Linked DNA regions of Homo sapiens: all the other regions are linked to region 1. Evidence: promoter capture Hi-C in human tissues and cell types (Jung and others, 2019). All regions are on one chromosome and are shown on one strand. Each heading gives the region's core, a stretch centred on a gene start or on the middle of the fragment in contact. The rest is flanking DNA. Distances are from core to core; before and after follow the strand shown.

Evidence for each region. Contacts are between HindIII fragments. The study calls those that stand out against the background at their distance.
Region 2: a contact is called between a fragment that was not itself captured here and the fragment with the promoter of NKX2-8 in region 1, in 4 of the 25 tissues and cell types used here (dorsolateral prefrontal cortex, mesenchymal stem cells, small bowel and 1 more).
Region 3: a fragment that was not itself captured here is called in contact with the fragment with the promoter of NKX2-8 in region 1 in 2 of the 25 tissues and cell types used here (mesenchymal stem cells and mesendoderm cells).

Annotation. Positions count from the first base shown.
Region 1 is chr14:36,581,085-36,584,201 of GRCh38, forward strand. It overlaps NKX2-8 (NK2 homeobox 8), which reads right to left and starts at 1,530. Exons shown (of 2, transcript NM_014360.4): 1 at 1,149-1,530; 2 at 1-380. The coding sequence starts at 1,305. RefSeq lists enhancers at 1-110, 111-921. The HindIII fragment of the contact is 13,278 bases long and covers 1-3,117 here.
Region 2 is chr14:37,108,527-37,111,226 of GRCh38, forward strand. The region is part of intron 1 of SLC25A21 (solute carrier family 25 member 21); the gene reads right to left. Among named protein-coding and RNA genes, the nearest start is that of SLC25A21-AS1, 62 kb to the right of the region's middle. The HindIII fragment of the contact is 3,481 bases long and covers 1-2,700 here.
Region 3 is chr14:37,138,562-37,141,357 of GRCh38, forward strand. All of the region lies in intron 1 of SLC25A21 (solute carrier family 25 member 21), which reads right to left. Among named protein-coding and RNA genes, the nearest start is that of SLC25A21-AS1, 32 kb to the right of the region's middle. The HindIII fragment of the contact is 4,758 bases long and covers 1-2,796 here.

The DNA of each region.
Region 1 (3,117 bases), core at 280-2,779:
CTGCCCGTCGCGAACAAGCACCGGCACCACCACGCGACGCAGCAGGCCGGGCGCGGCGTGCAGCTCGGCGGATGCTGCCAGGTCAGGCGACTCCGCCGCCCCTGGAGCGCGAGCGCGCTTCAGCTTGTAGCGATGATTCTGGAACCAGATCTTGACCTGCGTGGGCGTGAGGCGAAGCAGGCTCGCCAGCTGCTCGCGCTCGGGCGCAGACAGGTACCGCTGCTGCCGGAAGCGCCGCTCCAACTCCAGCGTCTGCGCCTTGGAGAATAGCACCCGCCGCTTCTTCCTTTTCTCGGCGTCCGAGCCCGGAGACGCGGGCCTAGCGGACGGCCGCTGCGACGAGTCTGGCGGGCTGGTCTCCAGGCTGCTCTCGTCCGAGGCTAGGGACAGCAAAGGAGACACGGGTGGGTGAGACGCCGGACCCTACGAGGGCCTGCTGCCCTTCTGGCGCGGGCGTGGAGGCACTGGCCAGAGGGCACGCCCACTAGCCCGAGACTTTCGGGATGAGGCCATTTCCTGAGTCCACATCTGGACATCCACCTCTCCGAATGCGGTGACCTCATTCATACCACAGCGGTCATCAGCGGGCCTGAGATCGTGCCCCGAAAAAACCCACCCCGGGGCCCTCTTAACATGTCCGCACCGGTAGTTGCGCTGGCCGACCAGTTTATCACAAGCTGGGTCACCAGCGCCGGCCTCCTCCAGGTCGACTGCACTGCAGTGTGCCGAGGTTTGCGGAGCCCTGAGTGGGAACGGGGTGGGGGTAAACTCGCCAACACTGGCCATCCCAGACGGAGGCCTGGAGATCGTGGCCGTGTTTTCAGGCATGGAGAGGGGGCGGGGGGTGGGGTGGGGGCGGCAGGTGGCGGCGCGTTTTAAATTTCAATTATTCCGACCTCTAGAAATCGTCAGACACAGAAACCCCAAATCTCGGAGCACCAGTGCCAGGCAGGGATCTGCTCTTAGGATGTGCCGACCGGGATGAATGCGTTAGGGGTTCGAGGACAGGGCTCCCGTTTCCAAGACTGAGGAAATCTAGACTCTGGGCTGGGATTTCGGCTTTCCGGCCCCTCGTGGGCTGGGCCCTTGATTCTGCTGCCCCACGCCTCCTACCTCCCACCCCGCACCGCAATCCACCACGCACTTACAAGGGTAGTGGCCGCGCTCCGAATCCAGCCAGGCGGCGCAGGGGTCGGGCTGGGGGGCGCGTGGTTCTGGCTCCCGCCTCGGCAGGTGTTGCGCGTCCTGCTCGGGTAAATCTAGAAGGCTGCGCACGGTGAAGCTCAGGCGTCCAGAGGTGGCCATGGCCGAGGAGGGGAAGGAGGCGGGGGCAGGGCAGGCTGGGAACGGAGGGGCGGCCGGGACGCCGCTCCTACGGATGGGCGTGGGAGGCGCTCGCCATGCGCTGGCAGCCGGGATATTAGCGCATTTACAGCGGAATCTCTGTTTATATAAACAGCTCTTCCCACCCAGGCCGCTTTGAAAGCCGAGGTCCGGGTCTCCAGGGTGTTAAGTACCTGAATGAGCACTGGACCAGAGCCGGGGCGAGCCCGGAAGGTGCCACCTCCGCCCCCGCCCCGCCCCGCACCCCGCCCCGCACCCCGCCCCTTGGCGCCCAGTTACCTCCCAGAGGCTGCAGGAAGCAGCATTTGGCATTAGCGATTCTGTCTGATTAGCCCAAAGTGGGGACAGATAATGGGGATTGTTACCAGTGAATAACATCTTGGGTGGCGAGCGGTGGCCACCACCCGCCTGACCCAGCCCCAGCTTCCTCCTCCTCCTCCTGGGCTGACTTGAGGCCAGGCCCCGCGGGAGCGCCGGGAAGGGTGGGGGTGGCAGGGGTGGGTTTATTAGCACCCAGGAATTTATTCCCTGTTTGCTTTATTCTTCGAGCTTGTTTGCTGGAGTGGTAGTTTCCCGCAATTATCCAGAAAGTGATTTACAAAGCGGCGTTAAACTCTGGCGCGCTCCCTTTCTCTTTTTGGTTGGGCCCCTCTAAGATTCAGGATGACAAGTTTCAGGAGGGCGTAAAGATTAGCCTGGCCCTGCCAGCATTGGCCCAGGGGTTTCAACGGCCGCTGGGAGCCTCGGATCACACCATACATCCCCCTAACAGCCTCAGAGGTGCTGAGGAAGGGCTGGGACAACATTCGGAGCCCCAGCTCCACGTCTCCACAGGCCGGCAAAACAGAAGAGGCTTGTAGCCAAGCTACTTAGGTCTACAGTGCCTGTCTCTTTGGCCCAGCTTCGCCCGGCCGCTGCCGATCTCGGAGCTCGGAGGCCGAGCTCCACAAATTTGGGTCCAGGCCCGCTTTAGAGCCCCTGGGCGGGGGCGCTTCTCAGGGCATCCTGTGAGGGCTTTGAGGCCTCCTTGGAGTCGCCAGATGAACTGGTGCCGCCTGTGCGCCTTGGCCCCATAGCCTCAACGGCACTCTCACTGCCTGGGCTTTGGTCTTTGCCCAGGAGCCTGCCCATGGCCTACGCTCCCCGCTCGCAGCATGGCAGACCCTGACGAGGCTGCCCGCCTTGGTCCGGGAATGGACCGATCGGGAGAATTAGGACAGGGCCTACCCGGCAGAAAATACCACCGGCCATGGGTTTCTCTGGGATCTTCTAGTTTCCACAGTTCCACCCTAGAAAATGATCAATGTAGGAGGCGCAGGGAACAGGCCGCCGTGGATACATTTTGTTGGGCCATGGCCTAGCTCTGGCCGCGCTTCAATCTACAGAGGAACGCCCTCTCAGAGGCCTCTCCTACTGAAGCTAGTAGTTTGGATATTTAGTTGCTAAATTGTAGCGAAGGGCTCTGTACTTGGGTGGCTGCACCAGAAGTCCTGGCTCCTCCCGGGCTGAACTCGAACCTGGCTCGGATGCGGCGGCGGCGGCCCTGTCAAGCCCCGCGCACCCTCCCCAGCAGCCTCCCTATCAAGCGTGCCCGAGGTGCCCGGAGCTGCACCGCGCGCTGGGTGGTCGGGCGGAGGCAACCCCAATACAGGCCAACTGCTAGGCCGCGGACAAAGGGGAAATGGAGCTCGACGCCCCGGACCTGTTGGAAGCATTTGTTCCAGTCAAGATTTTGCATTTGTTCAGTCCGGAATAATGCATGATTGACGTCTG
Region 2 (2,700 bases), core at 173-2,672, 530 kb after region 1:
TTTGTTATTTAAAATACAGTTTAAAAGGCTAGTACTGATAAGTAATTTATCAGACAGAAAAGCTATAGATTCACTTTACAAAGGAAGAAGTACATTGAGACCTTGCTGCTACAGTAATGAGTTGAAATTCAGGAAAATCACCTACATACTGGGAATTAAAAGATGTGAGTTTTGTTAAGTGTGTGTGTGTGTGTGTGTGTGTGTGTGTGTGTGCGTGTGTGTGTTGTGTGCCTCAATCCCTTTGTGTTTTGGCTTTTCAGTCTGGAAATTCACAAAAATAGGACAAGTCATAATATCTAAAATGGATAAATATATTATATTCTTTTTATCTTCTTGTACCTTTCCTCAGTTTTCAATTTTCTGTTCCCTGATTTCCATCCACCTACTCCCCACACTCTAATTTTTGAAATATTGCAGTTCCATTACAACCTGTTACTTTCCTACTCCTCTTTAATTTATCAGCTCACTAAGTGTACTCATCTCTTTATTGAAAATAAGGCAAGAAAACTAAATATATTTGTTGTGTTTATTTTTTCTTTAAAATTTTGTCCTACTTTGCAACAGCAGAATTTTGTTACAATTCTCTTAACTGTAAAGTCAGAAGTTTCAATTAGTTGATCCCCATGAAATGCACAGCTTTGTAGATCATGCAGTACTACATCATGTGAATGGAAGAGCTTAATAAATGCATCAGACTGAAACAAGGATGGAGATTACGATGGTGTGCGTGATTCTACCTTGCTTTGGAAAGTTGCGTGAAGGGATCATCATAACAACTAACCCTGCTTCATTTAAGCAATGAATCTCGGGCCAAATAGAGAAAAAGAAAGAATCAAGGAAGGAAAGGAAGAAAAGAAAAAAGGAGGGAAGGAAGGAAAGGAAAGGAAAGAAAACCTTTTTGGTATATAAAAACATAAAAATGCCAGATTTGTAGCATTTATGTAATTTCTTTTTTCAGTGAAATTTGTTTTGTTAGTCATGAGAATCTGAAATACAAAGCCAAGTTATATAAATACAAATTTGGCTTTCTAAAAAATCTTTTTTATCTTTACCTGTCACAGAGAGTGGTTGCGAAAGTATTAATGAATGATGTTGTGCAGTCAGGAGACCTATGTGCTAGCTTTAGCTCTACTTCTAATTAACTGCCCATGCACAATCTAGTCGCCTAATTTTTATAGGCCTGGACTTTGTCATGATTCCTAAGGCGTCTCGGAATAAGAAATAATGAGAAGATTATATCTTTGGTCCTTTAAAACTTTTTTTTTACATTGCAAAACTGCCATACATTGACCAATTCTTTTCTATAGATAACCTGAGGTCTTTATAAAGTAAGATTTAAAAAGGGGAAATATTTAATGAGTAATATTTTCCAGTTATGTTTCCCACAAAGATGAGAAAATTATTAACATTGCATGTCACAACTAAATTGCAGCTTAAATGTACATAATGAATGTAAACTATTACAATGTTATTAAAATAGTTTATGGTTACTCTTTATAACATCATAGTATTCCAAGAACCAGAGCTTCTGACTTTAAGTTGACCTGTGCTTTCCATAAAGAACAGTTTCATACTTGTGAAAAAAATGTATAATTGCTGTAAAACAATAGTTTGTGAACACTACTTCAGACTTTCTAATCATGCTCGAGGGAACACAAGAGCTCATTTCCTCTGAACTTCTACTACTTATGTTTTATGTTAAGAGGTTGCATTGGTTTGCAGAGGCATTAGTTAGCCAGAAAACTAGTCCCTTGAGCACTTGCTTCATTATTAAATGTAAAATAAGCCACTAAATAGCAGGATGAAGGCAACTTTCACATTTACCAAAATCACCTAATAGGCTTATGGAGAACAGGTGAGTATCATTCCATTCTAGAGTACTAAGTACATCCACTTGAAATATAGAAAACACAGCCTCTTCCAAGCATGAAGGAATCTTTGTATTCTTTGATTTCTCAGAAGCAAAAATTTAGCAAGTACAGACACAAGTTATAATAAAGATACAATGAAGGCACTGCCTGCTTGGATTGAAGAGCACAGGAGAGAGAGCAATTAGGTCATTTCTAACTCATTTTTCTCCAGGTCACCCAGTCCTTGCAGTAAGCCAGGGTCAACTCCACCTAGACAACCTCCCCAGCACTATAACTTGGTTTCATAAGGGACCACCATATTGCGCTCACTATTTTCAGTTAAATTCATGGCAATGAAACTCTTTCACTCCCAGACAACTGTTTATCAATGACTGATAACATAATATTCACGACAGAGGAATAGCCTGCTTGAACCAGCACTTTTCTTACCTGTTACTTGGTTTTGAAGAGACTATAAACTATTGGAAGAACTTGTCTGGTTTCCTATTTTATGCCAAACCTTATTCTATCGCTCTAAAAAAGAGGAGGAAAAAAATACTCATTTTTTGAACAGCAACAAAAAAAAAATCACAGATATCATAATGCTATTGAGCAAGTTAATGCAAAATACAGTGGAATAATACCTAGCCCAGGAATGAGAAGACATGAATTCTGCTTTTGAAACCTTTGAAAAATTATGCCTTCTCTCAATGCCTCAATGTTTTCTTATAAAGTAAGAAAGGTTTCTAAATTAAAGGTTTGAAGGTTTCTAAACTTTTGTTAGAATGAGAATCCTTTTTTTAACCAAATTTACCAATGAATTCAACCTGTTAAACTGATAAAATGACAC
Region 3 (2,796 bases), core at 56-2,555, 560 kb after region 1:
CTTAAATTCATTTGTTCATATACATTAATTTATTGTCTTTGGACAATATCTCTTATCTTTTATCTATTTCACTCCACTCAATTTCCTATGCATTTCTAATACCTCCAACTGCTAATTTTCCTTCATTGAAATGTTAAATATTATTTATGAGCTCCTTAAAAATCTTCTATATATACTAACATGTTATAATTACATTGATTTTCATAAAGAAAAAATTAGTTCTGAAAAAGAAAAAGCTATTTTAAATGTTTATATTCTATCCTAAAAAATAGTCTTCAACTGAATTTTTTGGTAAACTGTGTTGCAGTTTTTTACTAATGTTCTTTGGTTCAGTATAAATGATATGGTAAATTTGCATTCAAATTCATGGAACTTTTGAAATCTGTTTCCCATCTAGCTGGCCAGCCAAAAACAATATTTTCATTTGTAAACAGCTGTTTCATAATCAGCTCTTTTGTACTACGTGGAATTCCATAAAAGATAGAACATTTTATTTAAAATACAGGAATCGCATTAATCCATCACAAATCATTGATTAGTTTTTGTATACTACCACACATTTAACTTATAGGGAAAGATTTTAAGGAAAATTTAATCTTGTGTCCAAATGTAACATTACTTTAAACATGAGGTCATCTAAACATCTGTCTCCAATATATCACTGGGGATTTAAATCAAAAGTCTGCTAAACATGTACAATCATTTTGAAAATAAATAACAGGACAAATTCTGTCTTGATTATGATTATCATGCATTTTAAAAGGGAACATTTATTCTAATAAGAAAAGTCTGAACTAATTTAAACTTTATTGACATTAAGTTAAAATAGTTTCATACAAGAGTAAGAGATATATTTCGTTTATTTGCTGCATAACAATGCTTATATTTCAACTTTTCAACATTATACTCTTAAATTTTTACTCACAAAAAAAACTGATACCTTTATCCCTCCATATATTTTCAATAGTAAAATATTCAAGGAAAAATTTCAAGACATAAAATTTTCCACTCAGTAACTGAAAAATGAATAACACAATTTTCTTCCTGAACTTTCCTTCCTTTAGGGCAACACTATGAATCTTCAAGAAGAACTAAAATAGTTCTATCCATTTAACTGACTCCTATGTTACGCTTTAAAATAAAAGAATGTAGCTAATTACAAAAGACAGTGAAGGCAGTACATTCCCTTCAAGACTTTATAATCATCAAAAAGTCAGTGTATTTCTTAAATGATTAATTAAACTCTACACCTGACTTGTGTCTGGTAAGTATGAGCATTTAATTCACCAACAGGATATCTTCAGAAACCAGCTAAATACTTGAGATGAATACGCATTAAAAATAAACCACAATGCTTAATCATCAAAGCAATTTCTGCCGAAACTAAAATGAACATTAGCAGTTGAAGAACCGGAGGAAATAAAATTAAAGCATCACTGAATAGTACATTCTTAGAAAAACACCATAGCTTCCCCTAATGCTGCAGAAATCATCAAAGAACCCAGCTGCAAGGAATATTAATGTCCAGGTTTGTCTCACATCTAGTTGGCTGTTGCAAACTGTAACTGTAGGTGGTAGTTATGGTTTTCTGAACCACCTCACTGCATTTCTTCTTTCTGCTTATATCCCGAAGTTGCTAACTTTGGCCATGGCAATTTCAGATCATATATTCTGCCTTGGTAGATACAGGATAAAAACTTTAAAATGTATTCACAGGTCTCTGAGTGTAATTCCTTAAGGGCAAGAACTATGACTTACTAATTTTGGATATCCATTCCCTAGAACCACATCTGACACATATCTGCAGCTTGATAATTCTTGGTAAATGCATGAATGACTTGATGAAATGAACATCTGACTAAAACCAAAAACTTTTGCCTGGCTCTGCTGAACTGCCTACTAATACACTGCTTTAGTTTTCCCACCTATAAAATGAGGCTTATCCTTGCCCTGCACCCTCACTGAGGTATTGGGAGAATTGAACGAGAGCATAAACACAAAAATTTATTGTAAAACTAGCAGTAGCAAACTAGTGTAATCATTTTGATCATCAACAATGTATCTAGGTTAAATTGTATATGCAGAAAAACAGATACTGAATGTTATATGAAGTATTTATTTATAAAAACATTCTTTTGAAGAAGCTCAAAATTGAAATAACATGCTTCCAAAATATGTGGTATGTTGAAACAGAGAAATTCTCTTTTGAAAATACAGTTAAAGGACTGGGGGCTAAGAAATCCCTTTGGAAAAGTTAAGTCTGGTGGTACCATTTTTTTTTTTAACTTTATAAGATCTTAGAGCTGGGCACGGTAAGGCTCACGCCTGTAATCCCAGCACTTTGGGAGGCTGAGGCGGGTAGATCACTTGAGGTCAGGAGTTCGAGACCAACCTTGCCACATGGCGAAATTCCGTCTCTACAAATAACACAAAAATTAGCCAGGCGTGGTGGTGCAGGCTTGTAATCCCAGTTACTTGGGAGACTGAGTCAGGAGAATCACTGAACCAGGGAAGCGGAGGTTGCAGTGAGCTAAGATCACGCCACCGCACTCCAGCCTGGGTGACAGAGAGAGACACTGTCTCAAAAAAAGAAAAAAAAATCTTAGGAACTTAATAATTAACACCTTTTGTATTACGAGGAAGAAATTCAAGCTTTTTTATATAATTAATACAACTGAGCAACTGAGTTTATCTCAAACTTTAGCCTTCCCAGTCCAAAAGCTGAATACCATAATGACTAGCTAAAGATGCTAATTCAGCATTAGCAATGTAAAGCATGTTTTTGTGTGTTGCCAG